Linked DNA regions of Homo sapiens: all the other regions are linked to region 6. Evidence: promoter capture Hi-C in 16 types of primary human blood cells and fetal thymus (Javierre and others, 2016). All regions are on one chromosome and are shown on one strand. The core of a region is centred on a gene start or on the middle of the fragment in contact, and the rest is flanking DNA. Distances in the headings are between cores, read along the strand shown.

The links. Contacts are between HindIII fragments. The CHiCAGO score rates a contact against its expected background, and 5 or more counts as called.
Region 1: a contact is called between a fragment that was not itself captured here and the fragment with the promoter of HEATR6 in region 6, in 4 of 17 cell types (naive B cells, naive CD4 T cells, M0 macrophages and 1 more). The highest score is 7.8, in naive B cells.
Region 2: the fragment with the promoter of BCAS3 here is called in contact with the fragment with the promoter of HEATR6 in region 6 in 5 of 17 cell types (naive CD8 T cells, fetal thymus, neutrophils and 2 more); the score reaches 10.9 in naive CD8 T cells.
Region 3: a fragment that was not itself captured here is called in contact with the fragment with the promoter of HEATR6 in region 6 in 1 of 17 cell types (activated CD4 T cells); the score reaches 5.5 in activated CD4 T cells.
Region 4: a contact is called between a fragment that was not itself captured here and the fragment with the promoter of HEATR6 in region 6, in 1 of 17 cell types (neutrophils). The highest score is 5.4, in neutrophils.
Region 5: a contact is called between the fragment with the promoter of PPM1D here and the fragment with the promoter of HEATR6 in region 6, in 1 of 17 cell types (neutrophils). The highest score is 5.4, in neutrophils.

What each region holds. Positions count from the first base shown.
Region 1 is chr17:60,627,996-60,631,430 of GRCh38, forward strand. The region is part of intron 2 of PPM1D (protein phosphatase, Mg2+/Mn2+ dependent 1D); the gene reads left to right. Among named protein-coding and RNA genes, the nearest start is that of PPM1D, 30 kb to the left of the region's middle. The HindIII fragment of the contact is 1,646 bases long and covers 1,331-2,976 here.
Region 2 is chr17:60,676,435-60,679,587 of GRCh38, forward strand. BCAS3 (BCAS3 microtubule associated cell migration factor) reads left to right here and starts at 1,417. Exons shown (of 24, transcript NM_017679.5): 1 at 1,417-1,480; 2 at 3,019-3,106. The coding sequence starts at 3,024. RefSeq lists a silencer at 797-1,550 and enhancers at 969-1,138, 1,309-1,458. The HindIII fragment of the contact is 12,302 bases long and covers 1-3,153 here.
Region 3 is chr17:59,538,982-59,542,397 of GRCh38, forward strand. All of the region lies in intron 2 of LOC105371847 (a long non-coding RNA gene), which reads left to right. Among named protein-coding and RNA genes, the nearest start is that of LINC01476, 14 kb to the left of the region's middle. The HindIII fragment of the contact is 214 bases long and covers 2,004-2,217 here.
Region 4 is chr17:60,646,978-60,650,018 of GRCh38, forward strand. It overlaps PPM1D (protein phosphatase, Mg2+/Mn2+ dependent 1D), which reads left to right. Exons shown (of 6, transcript NM_003620.4): 4 at 915-1,105. Among named protein-coding and RNA genes, the nearest start is that of BCAS3, 29 kb to the right of the region's middle. The HindIII fragment of the contact is 3,769 bases long and covers 1-3,041 here.
Region 5 is chr17:60,598,573-60,601,598 of GRCh38, forward strand. PPM1D (protein phosphatase, Mg2+/Mn2+ dependent 1D) reads left to right here and starts at 1,621. Exons shown (of 6, transcript NM_003620.4): 1 at 1,621-2,314. The coding sequence starts at 1,843. RefSeq lists enhancers at 554-1,542, 1,543-2,530, 1,691-1,740. The HindIII fragment of the contact is 9,172 bases long and covers 1-3,026 here.
Region 6 is chr17:60,077,057-60,080,353 of GRCh38, forward strand. HEATR6 (HEAT repeat containing 6) reads right to left here and starts at 1,865. Exons shown (of 20, transcript NM_022070.5): 1 at 1,640-1,865. The coding sequence starts at 1,858. HEATR6-DT (HEATR6 divergent transcript) reads left to right here and starts at 2,253. Exons shown (of 2, transcript NR_135648.1): 1 at 2,253-2,416. RefSeq lists a silencer at 1,522-1,651. The HindIII fragment of the contact is 13,067 bases long and covers 1-3,297 here.

The DNA.
Region 1 (3,435 bases), core at 904-3,403, 550 kb after region 6:
AGTAGCTGGGATTAGAGGCATGTACCACCACACCCAGCTAATTTTGTATTTTTAGTAGAGACGGGGTTTCACGAACTCCCGACCTCAGGCGATCCACCTGCCTTGGCCTCCCAAAGTGCTGGCATTTCAGGTGTGAGCCACTGCTCCCGGCCCTGAATTGAATGCTTTTTAAAAATCCCTGCATAATTTAAAAAAATTAATGACTTTAATTTTAAGAGTACTTTTAGATTCACAGCAAAATTAAGTGGGAAGCACAGAATTCTCATATATACTTTGGCCTACCCCCCGTCTCCCAGGCTTCCCCACTATCCTTCTCCAGAGTGTTTGTTATAATCAATCAGTGAACCTACACTGACATACTGTTATCACCTGGTGTCCATAGTTTACATTAGGGTTCACTCCGGGTGTTATACATTTTATGGGTTTTGACAAATACGTCATGACACGTATCCATCATTATAGTATCATGCAGATTAGTTTCATCACCGTAAGAGTCCTCTGTACTTTGTCTGTTCATCCCTCCCCCACTTACTCCTGGCAACCACTGCTCTTTTTACTGCCTTCATAATTTTGCTTTTTCCAGAATGTCATATAGTTGGAACCATATAGTATGTAGCCCCTATGCATGACTTTTTAATATATGCATTTATTGTTTGTAATATACTAGGTCACTGAGTTATACAGATCTTGCAAATATTGACACTTTTTATTATACTATATAATATCCAGTCATGCAGCCTCTCAAAAAACTCCACTGTATACATGTGGTCTTAGTAGTATTATGAAAAAAAAAAATGGACCTTGGAGACACCCTGAAAAAGTCTGTAGTAACCTGCCAGGGGCCCCTAAACCACATTTTGAGAACCACTTTGCCAGTACTCGTATGGTTTCATCATCTTTTATATTTTAATCTTTAATCCTTCTGGAATTTTAAGATCTAAGCTATGTAGTAAATAGGCAAGTTAACTTTTTTTCTAGATGGCTACTAGTAGCCACTTGAATAATTATACATCTTTTCATTACTGAGTAGCAGGGTGACCAGGCTTAAGACCCTTCTTTAGTGGGAAGATGACCTTGAATTTACCCTCTTCTTGTATTTCTCTGGTGAAGATAAATGTGAAATATCACCTCTGTTGTAAGACAGCATTGCTTATTGTAGAATGATCCCTGAATGGAATTGCATCTTGGTAGGGAAGTTGTTGAATGGACTGTACATTTCTATTCGGAAGCACAGGCCTTGGCTTCCTTGTATGCATGCAGTTTGTCTTGTGTAGGGACCAAGAAACTGTAGTCATGTGCTATTTATTACATTGGTTTCTGTGACACATGAAGCTTACCTAAGCTAGACCCTGTCGTCTTGCTTACAACTGAGCCATCACTTGGGAGATGGAAAAATGGCTTCTGGCTGTCTGAATCACTGCTGAAGACAATATCCTTGAAGCTGCTATGGTGGCATACTCTATTTCCTGCCCAGTATTCTGCAAAGTTAGATGAACCTCCTTTCAGGCTATAGTCTATTTGATCTTGTGATTGTGAAGGTGAGAATATATCTGACATCTCTGCTGGTTGTCATGCTAAGTGGGCTTTGCAAATTATAAACAGAATTCTTCCATATATTTGGGTCTTTTCTGGGCTATAATTTTTTTCCTGCTTATTTACCAGTATTATAATTTTTAAAACGGAGACTTTATTATAATTTTAAATATTGGTAGGCCTGATTCCTTCTCATTAATCTTCCTTTTAAAAAATACTTTTCTTGGGGCCGGGCACAGTGGCTTACGCTTATAATCCCAGCACTTTGGGAGCCTGAGGCGGGCGGATCACCGGAGGTCAGGAGTTCGAGACAAGCCGGGCCAACATGGCGAAACCCTATCTCTACTAAAAATACAAAAATATTATCCAGGCGTAGTGGCATGTTCCCGTAATCCCAGCTACTCGGGAGGCTGAGGGAGGAGAATCTCTTGAACCTGGGAGGCAGAGGTTGCAGTGAGCCAAGATCCTGCCTCTGCACTCCAGCCTGCCCAACAAGAGTGAAAACTGTCTCAAAAAAAATAAAATAAAATAAAGCAGCTGGCTGCGGCACTTGTAATCCTAGCGCTTTGGAGGCCAAGATGGGAGGATCACTTGAGGTTAGAAGTTTGAGACCAACCTGTTCAACATAGCGGGACCTCCATCTCTAAAAAATTTTTTTATAATTATAAATAAATAAAATAAATGAACAAAAAAGGAAATAATTATTTTCTACAGAAGAAATTACCCTTTTGTGTTTTAAAAATACCTTTCTTGACTATTCTTTCTTGTTTGTTTTTTTACTTGAATTTTAAAATTATATTTTATTTGATTTTAATAATGTTTTTAGAAAGAGTTTTTTGGCTTTATTACCAAAAACACCATCTGGACAGTTGGGCAGATACTCCGCTATTTTGGAGCAGGTAACTTTTTGCAAAAATTGAGCTATTTTATTATAAGTTATTTCCTTGCTTCCCTCTGTCCCGGCCTAGGCAACGGGCCAGCATTTTGTTTTTCCAGCCTTCTGTTGCTGCTCAGTCAGCTCTCTGCGTGTCAGGCTGTTCCTTTTTACATGCCTTTTAATCATATAGGACAACAACAGGAAGTGCAGTAAAAGCATCTTTTATAACATTGCTTTGGTTTTTTGTTACTAGATGTTGAAACTTCTATGTTTTAACCAGTATCATTATTTGTCTTTTTGTTTCTCAGAAACACAGATCATAATATCTTTGAATATTAAGTGTCGAGAGAGCTGCTCGTCTAGTTATGTTGGAAGCAGCTACTGTAAATTACTTAGGTACTAAGCCTTACCTTGTAAGGAGAAGGTTTAGCAAAGAATAATAGAGCTTTAAGATGGTATTAAGGCAGAATGTTGGCATCTTATAACTCTTGTGTTTCATGGATTCTTGTGAATGGCAAGTTTAGTCTTTACTCTGCTGTTGACTTTTGAGAGTCATCATTGAAGAAAGCTTAATACAACAAAATGAATGCCTTTGATATTTTAACTCTTGTTATGATCAACCTATTTATATCAGAACTTATTTAAACTAGTTCTTGGCTGGGCATGGTGGCTCACGCCTGTAATCCCAGCATGTTGGGAGGCCCGGATGGGAGGATGGCTTGAGCCCAGGAGTTTAAGACCAGCCTGGCAAACATAGTGAGATCTGTTCTCTACAAAAAAATTACATGCCTTTGGTCCCAGCTATTTGGGAAGCTGAGGTGGGAGCATCACTTGAGCCTGGGAAGTCAAAGCTGTGGTGAGCCACGATCACACCACTGCACTGCAGCCTGGGCAACAGAACGACACCCTGTCTCAAAACCAAATGAAAACTAGTTCTCAAAAGGGATGGTAGGCTGGGCATGGTGACTCATGCCTGTAAGACTAGCACTTTGGGAGGCTGAGGCAGGCAGATTACTTGAGGCCAG
Region 2 (3,153 bases), core at 167-2,666, 600 kb after region 6:
GATTACAGGCGTGCACCATCAAAACCCGCTGATTTTTGTATTTTTAGTAGAGACAGAGTTTCACAAAGTTGGCAAGGCTGGTCTTGACCTCCTGACCTCAAGTGATCTGCCCCTCTCAGCCTCCCAAAGTGCTGGGATTACAGGTGTGAGCCACCGTGCCCGGCCTTTTCTTTCATTTCTTTTTTTAAAATTTTTTAAAATTTTATGTATGTATGTATGTATGTATGTATGTATGTATGTATGTATGTATCTATCTATCTATCTATCTATCTATCTATCTATCTATCTATCTGTCTTGAGAGGGACTCTCTGTCACCCAGGCTAAAGTGCTGGAGGGCAATGGCGTGATCTATAGGCTCACTGCAATCTCCGCCTCCTGGGTTCAAGCAATTCTTCCGCCTCAGCCTCCCCAGTAGCTAGGATTACAGGCATTGGCCACCACACCTGGCTATTTTTAGTAGAGACGGGGTTTCTTCATGTTGTCCAGGCTGTTCTAGAACTCCTGGCCTCAAGCGATCTTCCCGCCTAGGCTTCCCAAAATGTTGGGATTGCAGGCGTGAGCCACCACGCCCAGCCCACCACGCCTGTTAATAAGCTATACCCTCACGGACCTGTCATTGGCATTAAATTTGATAATACATTAGAGTATTGTATATGAAGTATACGAAGGCCTGTGCTGAGTGTTCAAGAAGTCAGTCAGTATTATTCTACTTATATTAATAAATGAACTGATGAAATGACAATGGCGAGATCTCGATCTTCAACAATAAGGGAGATGGAAACTGAAGCAAGAAGTGGTCTACAAACCTAGCTCAAATTGTTGAGATTACCGGCCGTGCCCCTTATTCAGATCAACCCCTCCTCGGCTGATCGCCGGCGCGAGCCAGCCTAGGCTCCCGGAAGGTAAACACATCGCCAAGGGCTGGGCAGAAGGCGGGTGTGGGACGGGTGAGTGGCCAGCTAAAAGTGATTGGCAGCTGCCATGTCCACGTGCTCCGAGCTTGGAACCAGCTGTCGCGAGAATTCGATGTAAACAGACCAGTCTCCCTGTCCTCCGGCTCCAACCTGAAACGCTCACGTGAGCGGGACAGGAGTCTGGATCATGTTGCTTTTCTTTTCAAAGCCACGAAGGTTCTGTCTTCCAAAAAAAATGTACATGTTCGTAATTATTCCCCAGCTGCCTGCGTTTGCAACCGAACCTGACACCTCGGCTTCACCCGAACTTACATGCTGTTGTGTTTTCCCTCCAGCCCCAGCGGATTGGACACATTCAGAAGGCGGGTCCGCCTCTTTCCTACTTGCTGGTTGGCGAAGCTGACCTCCAAGGGCGGTGCCCGGCCATAGCCGGTTTGCTTCTGGGATTGGCTAGAGGGGGTGGTTCCGCTGAGGCGTGGTAGGAAGTGGCTGCCGTCAATCACTCGGGGAGACTCCAAACAGTGAGCCTAGAGCTGGAGACTAGCGTTAACCGGCGGGGCGGCCGGTGAGAGGGCTGGCAGGGCTTTGGCTTTGGGGAGGCTTGGGGAGGACGAGGGACTGGCGGCGTGAGGGGACTGGGTCGGGCTGGCAGGAATTCGACAGGAGAGAGGTGTCGATACTGGAGGGGGAGGGGAACAGTGCAAGGGGCCGGAGGGCGGCCGGGGGCAGCGGTGGCTCCGTGTTGGAGGTTAAGTGGGCAGCGCCGTACGAGTGTCTTTCAGGAGACTGGGGCCTGAGTGGCTGGCGAGGGTCGTCCCCAGGAGACAGGGCCCTTAAAGGGCAGGGCTTGGGAGACTGTGGTTCGAGAAAGCAAGAATGGGATGAGAATGAGAGGGCTGAGGGGCTGGAGGTGCAGGTATCCTCTGAGGAGGTGGTGGCTCTGCTCCTTGGGGCAGAGGGTGTTTTGGTTGTAGGAGGTGGGGCGCACAGGTTTAGAGTTTTCACATCAGGTGTGAATGCTCCCTACTTAAAAATGGTTTTCGGTGCCTTCAAGATGAGTTCCAGGTTGTGGGCTTCCCTGAGCCCTGTAAGAGATCTTTGATATTGCTGTCAGTCCTCTTTTAACCTTAACCAAGCCGACTCCATGCTCTTAAAATCTCAGTGATTCAGAGGGTCATGAAACATTCTAGGATCAGGATTTACTGATGTGACGGGAAAGGGTAAAGGGCTGTAACAACGTATTAGTTTATGTTAGTTATTTGACTACTTGCTACTAGTCAAATAATTACTTGACTTATTTGTTATAGTAGCAGGGGGTTACGAATGTGATTTAAATTGTGATTTACTCATAGATTCCCAACAGGTTTAATTGGAAGGTAGAGTGATATCATGTCACTTGTTCCGTTTGGTCTTGAAATATTGTACCATGTGTATTTTCACTATCTCAACATAAAATTGCAGTAAATTCCCATCCCATGATCTGGTTCTCTCACCCTTGTAATTTATGTTAACAACAGACCAAGGGGTACAGCAGGAGTCTTCCTTACATTGTTTTGTGGTTCTGAGACCTGGTCCTATTAAAAAACAAAACAGGATGGGCGCGGTGGCTCAAGCCTATAATCCCAGCACTTTGGGAGGCTAAGGCGGATGGATTGCTTGAGCTCAGGAGTTCGAGACCAGCCTTGGCAACATGGTGAAACCCCGTCGCTACAAAAAAATATAAAATTTAGCTCGGCATGGTGGCGCTCGCCTGTAATCCCAGCTACTCAGGAGGCTGAGGCAGGAGAATTGCTTGAGCCTGGGAGGCGGAGATTGCCATGAGCAGAGATCGTGCCACTGAACTCCAGCCTGGGCGACAGAGCGAGACTCTATCTCAAAAATAATAATAACCCCCCAAACCCCTCATTATAATTTGAAAAAAATTAAAAACCTACTTCCTCCTTTTTTCCCTTTCTGGTGTAACAGGAATTTCTGGGAAAGTTTCCTACATTTGAGGCATTTTTGACAAGGGATCTCTAGTGAGTAATCATAAATCTTCCTCCCTACCCCCAACAACGATCCATGTTTTTCTGTTTTTTGTTTGTTTGTTTGTTCTGGAAACAGGTTTTATGAATGAAGCTATGGCTACAGATTCCCCAAGAAGACCCAGTCGTTGTACTGGTGGAGTTGTGGTTCGCCCCCAGGCTGTCACGTAAGCACATTTCAGATAAACCCAATAGCTGAAGAAAAGATTACTCA
Region 3 (3,416 bases), core at 861-3,360, 540 kb before region 6:
GCTGTTTTTTAAATTTTTCATTTATTTTTATTTTTAACCATTGCAACCTCAGTTCTTACAGTCGTACAGTGTCCATAGTAAGCAGGTGGTTTATATGACTGAATAGAAAGCAGAATTTTTCCTTAAAGAGTTTCTCAGAAAAGAGGGCAACACCTTCCATTTAAGTTCTTACGAAATATCCTATATTATGTTACATTCTCTCAATTTTTTTATTTAGAGCAATAAAGTACTGTTCAAGGAACTCACATTAGCCTGAAAGGACCTCATAGAATGCATGGATGCTTGTAGAGAGCATCTATTGGAATCAGTAAAAAACGGAGACAAAGACATTTAAAAACCTTTAATAATCTGTGTTTTGGGGGCTGTGACCTCACAGAGGAAAGGGCTGGATGCCCTTGTAAACAGGTTTGTTTGTTTGGTTGGTTGGTTGGTTGGGTTTTTTTGAGACGGAGTTTCACTCTTGTTGCCCAGGCTGGCGTTCAATGGTGCGATCTCGGCTCACTACAACCTCCACCTCCCAGGTTCAAGCGATTCTCCTGCTTCAGCCTCCCAAGTAGCTGGGATTACAGGCATGTGCCGCCATGCCCAGTTAATTTTGTATTTTTAGTAGAGACGGTTTTCACTATGTTGATCAGGCTGGTCTTGAACTCTTGACCTCAGGTGATCCCCCCATCTCGGCCTCCCAAAGTGCTGGGATTACCAGCGTGAGCCTCCATGCCCAGCCGTAAACAAGTTTTAAAAGTAGATGGGGAGCCAGGCATGGTGGCTCATGCCTGTAATCCCAGCATTTTGGGAGGCCAAGGCTGGCGGATCACTTGAGGCCGAGAGTTTGAGACCAGCCTGGTGAACATGGCGAATCCTCATCTCTACTAAAAATACAAAAATTAGCTGGGCGTGGCATGTGCCTGTAGTCCCAGCTACTCAGGAGGCTGAGGCACGAGAACCACTTGAACACGGGAAGCGGAGGTTGCAGTAAGCCAAGATCGTGCCACTGCACTCCAGCCTGGAGCCTCAAAAACAAACAAAACAACAACAAACACAAAGTAAATGGGGGAATGGTGGGAAAGAGATGGAGGCCGAAGAACAATGCTGATTACAAAGTTCACTTCAAAAGCAATTCTGCTAAGTAAGTGGCTTACTTCCCTGGTCAAAGCAACTGTTATCTCTTGCCTGAAACTACTGCAACAGCCTTCTAAATGGTGTCTCTGAACCCCTCCTATCCATCTACAATCTTCTGTCCATGAACATCCAGAGTGATCTTTTCTTTTTCTTTTTTTTTTTTTTTTTTTGAGGCAGAGTCTCGCTCTGTCGCCCAGGCTGGAGTGCAGTGGCGCGATCTCGGCTCACTGGAAGCTCCGCCTCCTGGGTTCACACCATTCTCCTGTCTCAGCCTCCCGAGTAGCTGGGACTACAGGCGCCTGCCACCACGCCCACCTAATTTTTTGTATTTTTAGTAGAGACGGGGTTTCACTGTTTTAGCCAGGATGGTCTCGATCTCCTGACCTCGTGATCCGCCCACCTTGGCCTCCCAAAGTGCTGGGATTACAGGCGTGAGCCACCGCGCCCAGCCAGAGTGATCATTTCAAAATTCAAATCTCCTACTTAAAAACCTGTAATAGATTTGCAACTGATCTTTGAATAAAAATCAAAATTACTAATGACTTTAAAAAAAACCTTGAATCCTTAGTCTCTCTCTCTATCTTTTTTTTTTTTTTTTTTTTGAGACAGGGTCTTGCTCTGTTGCCCAGGTTGGAGTTCAGTGGTGTAATCATGGCCCACTGCTGCCTTGATCTCCTGGGCTCCAGCAATCCTCACACCTCAGCCTCCTGAGTAGCTGGGACTACGGGCATGCACCCCATGCCTGGATAATTTTTTAAAATTTTTTTGTAGAGAAGTCTCATTATGTTGCTCAGGCTGGTCTCAAACTCCTGAAGTCAAGCGATTCCCCTGACCCGGCTTCCCAAAGTGCTACGATTATAGGCATGAGCCACAGCACCGTCTCAAGCTTTCCTTAATGGCCTTTGTTAGAATTATAGTTATAACTATAAACTCTGTAAGGGCAAGATACACGTTAATTTTTGCTCACCTTTGTCTTTCCAACAGCTAGCAAAGTACCTGGCACAGGTAATTTGTAAGCACTTATGATTATTTGAATACATGAACAAATGAGATCCTTCATTGGGAAATGAATTATCTACCCAGTGGTCTAAGAGAGTAAGCTTTAATATTTGTACTTTTTGGCTTCTGGAACTCCATACTTTACTCTGAGCCCTGGCATCATGAGAATTGATCATCCAGTTTGGTTAAGACCATTCAGCTCTACCATTCTGGAATCAAATACCTGTTCAGCTTACATGATGCCTTATTTGAAGATATTCATTTCTAGGTGTCCACATCAAACAGGTCATCAATGACTGACATCTGCTGTCTGATTCTCTGAAAAGTCCTTCATCTCCACCTAAGAGAGCAACCTGATATTTACCATATGAGAATTCTTCCCCTCAGCTCTCTTGGTCACCAACGATATGGGTCGTTTGTAGGTTCTCCAAGTTCTTCTCATGGTTAAGGGCATTTCAGGTGCCCTGCTTGGAAATGATAGCTCAGTTTCTAGTATTTGTAGAGAAGGAACATAAAACTTGGTGCAGCACATACTTCAAGAAATCTTGGAGAATTAAGTGTTGCTTCTCAGTATCTCACTCCAGTACAGAACTCCAGTTCTGTAGCTTTACACCTCATGTTGTAAGCATGAAGAGTAACTTAGAGTTATCAGGCGGCTTCATCAGTTATATAGAAAAAAATGTATATTTTCCTTCTGTATAACTGATAGAATCCAGCTCTCTGTAGTATGTACTTTCTATAATCTGTTTGTGGAGTAAAGCTGAGTTAATAGCAATTGTATCTCACACAGATACATTGCTCTGTGTCATGTGTCTTGCCTATTACTTCCTTGGAGAAAGTTATGAAAAGTTGTGTCCTGTACAGAGACGCCACGATGCTCTACATCTTCCATGCTACTTCCTTACTCCCTGGTCACAGGCCTAACTCAGAGTTCTAATCCTACTGAACACTTCATTGTCTAAATGCCCCATTTACATCTTCTTCCTCTCTCCCTGAAGGCTTTCGTAGATTGTGTATTCAAAAGATCACTGAATCAAAAAGAAAATCACCATTCTTTATTTTTTTTCCTGGCACTTATAATCATCCAACATAATACACATATTTTGTTTACATTGTTTATTGTGATTCCCTTCACTAAAATGTATGCTTCAGGGATCCAGGAATGTCTGTCTGTTTTATTCGCAGTAGTAGTATTAGCAGTTAGTATAGAATCTAAAATATAGTAGGTGCTCATTAAATATTTGTTGAATGAATTAATGATGCCAAATTGATATAAGAAAGGATATTCAAGCATAACT
Region 4 (3,041 bases), core at 61-2,560, 570 kb after region 6:
ACTGATCTAGAGATTAACAGGAAGTTTGCAAACAGCCATTGGTACTTCTGTTTGTAGGATAAGTTCTCATCTTGTCCTTTTTCTTCAAAATTATCTTGATTAATCTTGGCCCTTTGCGCTTAGCCTGTCAAATTCTACAACAATCCTTTTGGGATTTTGGTTAGAATTACATTGACTTTGTAGATTATTTTGGGAATAATTGACATCTTTATTATAGTAAGTATTGCTATCTATGAATCTGATTGGTTACTTCATTTATTTAGATTATCTTTTTAATGTTTCAAAATAGAATCTATAATCTTCATAACAGGCATGTATACCGTTTGTTAAAGTTGTTCCTAAGTTCCTTACATTTGGTTCATTGTTAAAATTGGATTATTTAAACATTTATATTTTCTATGTCTTGCTATCATATAGAAATACGTTGACTTATATATTGGGTTTGTATTTAACAACTTTGCTAAACTTTTCTATTGTAATAATTTATTTTTGGTTTTCCATGTATAAATGAAATTATCTGCAAATAATATTAGTATTATTTTCTCCTTTCCATTTTGTATATACTTTATTTTTATTATCTTACTGTGCTGGGAAGGACTCAGTATAGTATTAGAAGAGAAGCAATGATACAAGGCATAGTTTTCTTATTTCTACATTTTAAAGGGAATACTTTTAACATTTTACCTTTAAGATGATTATTACAGAATTCTGGTGGATATACTTTATCAGGTTAAGGGAGTTCCCTTTTATTCTTAGTTTGCTAGGAAATCTTATCATGAGAGGAGTTTGAATGTTATCAAATGCTTTTCTGCGTCTATTGAGATGAACTGTGTAGATTTTCTCTTTTAATCTGTTGCTGTTGTACTATTAGCTTCCAACTAATACTTCTTGCTTTTTCTGCTCCCTTCCCCCAGGTGATTTGTGGAGCTATGATTTCTTCAGTGGTGAATTTGTGGTGTCACCTGAACCAGACACAAGTGTCCACACTCTTGACCCTCAGAAGCACAAGTATATTATATTGGGGAGTGATGGACTTTGGAATATGATTCCACCACAAGATGCCATCTCAATGTGCCAGGACCAAGAGGAGAAAAAATACCTGATGGTGAGATGTGATTGAATAACTTGATATTGTTGTCTAAACATTGTTTTGGTACTTCTGTCAGAATCTTGAATATGAACTAAGGACATTGACCTTGGGTAGATTTTTGCATTTGCCTTGATCTGCTAGTGGGTAAAACATAGGCTTTGTAGCTCCTAATCATTAGAGGAATGAGACAAGAAATATATAACCGAAGTCTAATAACAAAACACACAACCACTGACTTCAGTATAAATTGGCCTGTGAAACGTTGCTAATTCCTTATTTTTTTAAATGACATATAATTTCCATACCATAAAATTTATCGTTTTTTTTTTTTTTTTGAGACGGAGTCTTGCTCTGTCACCCAGGCTGGAGTGCAGTGGCACAATCTCGGCTCACTGCAAGCTCCGCCTCCTGAGTTCACGCCGTTCTCCTGCCTCAGCCTCCTGAGTAGCTGGGACTACAGGCGCCTGCCATCACACGCGGCTAATTTTTGTATTTTTAGTAGAGGTGGGGTTTCACCTTGTTAGCCAGGATGGTCTCGATCTGACCTCGTGATCCGCCTGCCTTGGCCTCCCAAAGTGCTGGGATTACAGGCGTGAGCCACTGCGCCCGGCCAAAATTTATCCTTTTAAAGTGTATAATTCAGTGATTCTTAGTGTAGTTCACAAAGTTGTACAACCATCACCACTACTACTTTTTTTTTTTTTTTTTCTGACTGTCTCAGTGTCTCGCTCTGTTACCGAGGCTGGAGTGCAGTGGCATGATCTCAGCTCACTCTAACCTCTGCCTCCTGGATTCAAGCGATTCTCCCACCTCAGCCTCCCGAGTAGCTGGGATTACAGGTGTGTGCCACCCCACCCAGCTAATTTTTTGTATTTTTAGTAGAGATGGGGTTTCATCATGTTGGCCAGGCAGGGCTCGAACTCCTGACCTGAGGTGATGCCTCAGCCCCACAAAGTGCTGGGATTTAAGGCATGAGCCACCGCACCCGGCCTCCATCACCACTACTTCTACTACTTTTTTTGTTTTTTTTTCCCCCCAAGAGATGAGGTGTCACTATGTTGCCCAGGCTGGTTTAGAACTCCTAGGCTTAAGCAGTCCTCTCACCTCAGCCTCCTGAGCAGCTGGGACTACTGTGGTGCCATGCCCAGCTCCTAATCTCAAAACATTTTCATCATCATCCCCTAACAGAGCACATGGAAGTATCTGGAATCAAAAATCCAAAGATGGGTTATCCTTAGAAAAGATGATCTTTCTCTCAGATGGCAGGAATAGTAAAGCTGTATTTTGAGGTGGAAGGAGGGGCAAATTGATTGAATTTTTGTTAAATTGCCTCCATTCATTCCGGGCGCAGTAGCTCACGCCTGTAATTCCAGCACTTTGGGAGGCTGAGGCGGGTGGATCACCCAAGGTCAGGAGTTAAGAGACCAGCCTGGCCAACATGATGAAACCCCACCTCTACTAAAAATACAAAATTAGCTGGGTGTGGTGGCACTCGCCTATAGTCCCAGCTACTTAGGAGGCTGAGGCAGGAGAATCTCTTGAACCCAGGAGGCAGAGGTCGCAGTGAGCCAAGATCATGCCATTGCACTCCAGCCTGGGCAATAAGAACGAAACTCTGTCTCAAAAAAAAAAATTGCCTCCATTCATTCACTCAATTAACATACTAGGTACTAGGTACAGGGATTGCAAAGGTAAATAGAATATGGTCCTTCCTCAGCACTTACCATATTATTATAAATAGAATATATAAAAAACTAACAATCCCATTAGATCATGAGTTCTTTTAAGGTGAGAGTCATCTTGATTCAGTTTTACATGTTCAGGGCCTGGTGTGTTGCATTTAGTTGGAGATTATCATGTATCAAAGAGTAACATAAAGACTCTTCTGTCTAATGGATTTAGAATTCTTTAATGATCTGAGAGAGATCATTTCAATGGCATAAAGACAAAA
Region 5 (3,026 bases), core at 371-2,870, 520 kb after region 6:
TAGGATATTTGGTGAAGAGTGGGATATGGAATCAGAGTAATTGAAGCAGAGAGTAGCATGGAGATACTAGAGCAATAAACGGATGACGCAGATCCTACTGGTTGTGATTGAGGTGGAAAGGATTATAAAGCATGATGGAATTATCTTTTGGTAATCTCTTGGGTCAAACGTGGTGAACGGTAAGATGAATAATATAGAGCTACACAAACCGTTCTTGTGATATGGAGGCTGCTCCCTAATTACAATGCTAATATTTCATTTAGGATTTTTGTATTCATCGTTACAAAACAGGGTCTGTAGGTTTCCTTTTAGTGTTCATAATGCTTAGGTTTTACTAACAGGGTTATGATTACCTCTCCAAACAAGCTGGGATTTTTTTTTTCAAGCGTTTCCATGCCCTGGAACCATCTGGTCTAGTGCTTTTTGGGGTAATGAATATCTTCAATTGTATTTATTTTTACTTAGTTGATCTATTCAGATTTTCTACATTTTCTTGAGCTGATTTTGCTTATTTATATTTTTATTGATATAAAGATTTTTTCTATTTTTATTTCTTGTGCCAACTGTATGTACATTCCCCCCATTCCCGTTTCCATACTGTTTTTAGGCCATTTGAAAATCTCAAAGGTTTTACAGGAAAGTACAGATTGATGAAGAAATGGCCAAAAACGGGAAAAGTGAACTTTAAAGTGATTCAACTACAAAACGTATGCTACTGAGCAAATACTAGTGTATTCCTCGCTCTGCGGCTTAACTCCATGAAAATCCGTGCAAAGGTTTTAGCGTTGGGATTGTGACCGACTCGGTGAAGAGAGGGGACGATCACCAAACCGTTAGAGCACTGGGGCTCTTGGCAGTGTTTGTCAGTTATTTTCAAGTGATAACTTGAAGTGATACCGCAGGAATAAAATGCTGTATCCAGAGCTGGTCGGAACGAGCACTACCTTTAACAAAAGCTGAAAAGATCTGCCTAGGAATTCGTTAGAATACAGCCCTCTTACGTCTCTGACATACCTAGTTATGTGAACCGAGACTGTGCAGCTGACGGTGGAAATTTCCTAAGTGCTTTTTAAACAACAGAACTGGACTCCCTCCCTCCTCCATTCCCAGTCGAATACGTCCCACCCAGATCCAGCTCAAGGGTGCAGCACTTGTTCCGGCCAGCTCACAATCGCCCTTTGGAAGGGAGGTTTCCCGCCATTTCGCTTAGGAGGAGGGTGAACTCTTCTCCCTTCATTCTCCACTCGCTGGGGGCCCGAGCCCACACCACCTTCCTAGCAAAGCAAGCAGCGGGACGCCAAGGCCAGCAGGCCGCATTAAGAACGCTGGACTGAGCCAAAAGCCTACACAGACCAAGCCGCTCGGGAAAGGATCAACAACTGCCGACAACCCGGAGGGCGAAAACGCCCGCGGCGTAGGGGAAGCAAACTAGGAGATGCGCGGGCCCAGCGCCAGCGGCGGGAGGAGGCAGCGCGGCCGTCGCAGGCGGGAGCGAAGGCGGGGACGGAGGGCGGGCTCGCTCCACTCGACTCCGGATTGGTCGAGCTTAGAGAGCCGAGTGACGTCAGCGGGGGAGAACGCCTGATTTGTGTGGTGGGCGCGGGCGGTGGGGGGAAGCGCAGTGCGCAGGCGCAACTGCCTGGCTCTGCTCGCTCCGGCGCTCCGGCCCAGCTCTCGCGGACAAGTCCAGACATCGCGCGCCCCCCCTTCTCCGGGTCCGCCCCCTCCCCCTTCTCGGCGTCGTCGAAGATAAACAATAGTTGGCCGGCGAGCGCCTAGTGTGTCTCCCGCCGCCGGATTCGGCGGGCTGCGTGGGACCGGCGGGATCCCGGCCAGCCGGCCATGGCGGGGCTGTACTCGCTGGGAGTGAGCGTCTTCTCCGACCAGGGCGGGAGGAAGTACATGGAGGACGTTACTCAAATCGTTGTGGAGCCCGAACCGACGGCTGAAGAAAAGCCCTCGCCGCGGCGGTCGCTGTCTCAGCCGTTGCCTCCGCGGCCGTCGCCGGCCGCCCTTCCCGGCGGCGAAGTCTCGGGGAAAGGCCCAGCGGTGGCAGCCCGAGAGGCTCGCGACCCTCTCCCGGACGCCGGGGCCTCGCCGGCACCTAGCCGCTGCTGCCGCCGCCGTTCCTCCGTGGCCTTTTTCGCCGTGTGCGACGGGCACGGCGGGCGGGAGGCGGCACAGTTTGCCCGGGAGCACTTGTGGGGTTTCATCAAGAAGCAGAAGGGTTTCACCTCGTCCGAGCCGGCTAAGGTTTGCGCTGCCATCCGCAAAGGCTTTCTCGCTTGTCACCTTGCCATGTGGAAGAAACTGGGTAAGTTCCCTGGCTTGTTTGGCGCCCGCCCCTTTTTCAGGCAGTTCAGGGCTTTTATGGCACCAGCCCCGCGTGGGCCCCCGGCACCCAGAGCGCAACCAAAGTATACACTGATGGAAGTGACTAAAAGCTGTAATAGCGCTTTGCTGGGTGGAGGTCCGGGCAAACCAAGCGGCCTTGGGGAAGATAGGATTGCCGTCTCCCTGCAGCCTATTCTTGCTTTATTTCCATCCTCCAAGGATCAATGGGAAGCAGTCCACTCCCTTCCCTGCTTCACTTTGGTGGCAACCAGAGGAAACGTGTTTGAAACCTGGCGCCAGATTTTGGCCAAAAGATAAATCGATGTTGCACCTGGGCCAGGCGAAGGAAAAACTGTAGTGTTTCCTTAGAGAATCTGTCATAATTCTGCTCCTGAAAGTCTTATCCCTCTCGGTTGCCTCCTACCGGTGGTGTCAGTTCTCCAGATTGACCCGGGATTGCTGGGGTTGGTTGCTGGAGTAAAGCGTAAGCTAATTTAGAAGGGCTGAAACGTAACCATCCGGCAACTTAAAGTTTTGGAAGGAATTCCGTTGTAATGATGGTGAGATGTTTTTAGGATCATAAACCTGTACTGCTTATGAAAACTAAAAACGCGGAACGTGTTGTTACCTCTTAAAAACTGGCCCCGTGTTAAGGGTGTGCGTTAGATTCTGCTTGGGTTTTCTTTTTGGAA
Region 6 (3,297 bases), core at 615-3,114:
CTTTGGGCTCCAAAGGTAAAACAAACATGTTCCTGAACCTCAAAGAGCTCACAAACTAGTGAGAGAGAAAGAAACACAACAAATAATTAAAATAAGGTGAATCAAGTGCTGAAAGAATAAAGTACAAACTCTGTCCAGAAACAGTAATTAGGGAGGCCTTGTGGAGGTGACTGTAAAGCAGAATCTGGAATGATTTGAAGGATGAGGAGAAATTTGCCAGATAGGGCATCAAAAAACACTGCAAGCAAAGTGGACAGAGTATGCAAAAACCTGGAGGTGTGAAACACTAGTAGGTGCCTGAAGAACAGCAAGTTTTAAATGGCTGCACACAGGAACAAAAGGGGGAGTAACAGGAGAGAATGGAAGTTTTGTTGCAAAAGTATCCAATTACACAAATACAGCAAAAGTCCCCGACTACTGCCTTAATCTCACTCTGCTTCCTAATGACATACACTATTATTCTGTAGTCAATTCTTTCAGACCTTTTACTTTGCATATATAAACACACATATTTTAAAATCCCTCCTCCAGCTTCATACTGATCTCATTCTGTATGAATTGTCCTGCAACTTGCTTCAACCATTTACCAATACGTATTGAAGACTTTTCCAAAGCAGATTTTAAAGTTTATGAACAATTTTTTTTCCTCCTAAAGAAAAGATCATTCTGGCATTGGAGGAATGACTGGCTTGGAGAGGAGCTAGACAGGAGGCAGGAGATCAGTCAGAGGGGATCAGCGAACAGTCCAGGCATAAGTCGCCTTGCCTGAGGTCTAAGGCACTCGCTATGGGAATAGACAGGAGGGGATGAACTGAGAAATATATATGAGACACATTCTGAAATACCTGAGTTGGTCAGGATCTGGGATGAAGGAGGGAAGAACCAGTGTTTGTGTCTGGTGTGACTTGGTGGATGATGCATGTGTGTTGGAAGGTGGGATGGACTGGGGACGGGAATGCGTGTTTGGAGCTAATGAATTTCATCTTTAGGAACTGTCTAGTTTGAGATGCCTGTGCAAGCAGGCAACTTGCACCACTTCCCTCTTTCCTACGTAGGGCCAGAAGGCCATGGTGTCAACAGTTCAGAGAATTCATTAATTTAAGGCCTGATGTGTGTAAGATTACTCAGAAAGACGGCAGAGGGGAGGAGCTAGTGTGTAGGAACAGAAAACATAGGGGCTTTGTGGCAGAGTTTTGTATACTGTATTTTTACGAGCTTCAGTATTTTCATTAGCAAACAAGCCCTAATACTACGCAAGTTCTAAGATTCCCACGTGGTCCGTGTACCATGTACGCAATAAACAGTAGTAATGCATTTTGTCAACCAAGTGTTCTGGGTGCACAGAGAGGGAGTGAAGGAGGGTGCGGGCGGATGGAAAGTTGGTATCAGAGAGGAAACCCGAGGCATTATCAGAGCAGGAGTCGTCAAGTTGGGTTTTGAATGACTCGAGCGTGCCAAGCACTGCAGGGTCTTCCAAATGGAGAACTAAGAATGTGCCAAGGTTGGAGGGGGCACGCCATCCTGAAACTAAATCATCAGGCGCGAGAGTGGGAAGATCAGGGAAAGGCAGGCAGAGGCCACCAGCTGGGTTCCCGGAGGGGTGGGGCCGGGGCCGGGGCCAGCAGGGCGCGCCGCCTACCTCCGGGGCCACGCCACTGCCCTCGCTGTAGTTCTCGGAGATGAGCTGATCGAAGAGCAGGTGGATCTCGGTGCGGGCGGAGCTGCTGTCATCCGGGCGCAGGGCGCAGAGCCTGGCAGACAAGAGGCGAAACCCATTGCCTCGCTCAGGGATTGCTTCCCGCGGTGCCTCCCGCGGCTGCACGGAAGGCCACGAACCGACAACTTGCACAGCAGCCATCTTTTCTACGGGCGGGGGGGGTGGGTGGGGTGATCCCAGGGAAATACTTCCGGGACATCCTCCCGTTCCGCGCGCTCTAGTTCCGAAAGTACCTTTTTTAGACCGGACTGGGGCTCAGAGGGGTTTCCATGACTACGGGACTCCTCCGACCGGTACCCTGCAGATGCTTGTCAGAAATTGGCTTGGAGGCCGGGCTCGGTGGCTGACGCCTGTAATCCCAGCACTTTGGGAGGCCGAGGCGGGCGGATCACGAGGTCAGAAGATCGAGACCATCCTAGCTAACACGGTGAAACCCCGTCTCTACTAAAAATACAAAAAAAAAAAAAAAAAAAAAATTAGCCGGGAGTGGTGGCGGGCGCCTGTTGTCCCAGCTACTCGGGAGGCTGAGGCAGGAGAATGGCGTGAACCCGGGAGGCAGGGCTTGCAATGAGCCAAGATCGCGCCACTGCACTCCAGCCTGGGCGACAGAGCGAGACTCCGTCTCAGAAAAAAAAAAAAAGAAAGAAATTGGCTTGGAGATTTTTCGCCGGCCACTCCTTCTTGAGCCCTGACTGAAAAGTGAGTTCTCAATTTGTGCTTCCAGAAAGTTTGTCCTCCCAGAGTTTGTTCCTGGACAGGGCTGAAGGTACTCTGTTCCGTACTAGAGTTTCAGATTCGGGCTGGAGTTGGAGAGGGTATGCTGTGGATGGCAGTAGCAGAAACCGCTAGTTCTAAGGCACCCTTCTACTCTTCTAAAATCTTTCCCCAGGCACAAAACCACCCGGAATAAAGGCTACGTTCCCTAGCATTCCTTGCAGTTGGCTGTGGCTCTGTGATTGCAATCTGGTCAGTGGAATATAAGGCAGCTTTCCCTACTTAAGTGACAGCTGGCTGTACTCTTGGTTCCTTTTTCTCCCTTTTTCCCAGTGTGAATCCTCTCATGGATCATGAGGCACCTCGCCCCACTAGAAGAGTAATTTTGGAGTTTAACTGAATCATGTAAAATATAATCTGCCTAAGAGTGACCGGGTTGAAATGAGACACCCCAAGATTTTCTGAAACCTTGAAGTCAAGAAGCTGGAGAATAAAATGGCCATTTAAAAATCTGTGATCACTTTTCAGTCATCCAGGAAGTGAAGGCTTGACTTTCACAGTTGGGCAGATTGGGAAAACCATCTCTAGGGCCTTTGAGTTATGCAAATATAAAGCAAATCCTCACCCTTGGCCCTTAGGGAAAACCTTGAAGTCACCTGAATGTATGTTTTATCCTGAGAACAAAACATTTCTGTTCAGCAGTGAAAATTGGGGGTATGCTTTAGCAGAGGTAGTTTTCTGAAGACTTTGGGCTTGGGGAGAAATGTTAATTTTTTTGTTTGGATTTAGATTCCGTTGTGCTGGTATATTATTTCTTATTCCTAGTCTGTGTACATATGTGCGTTATATATGTGCATGTGTGTGTG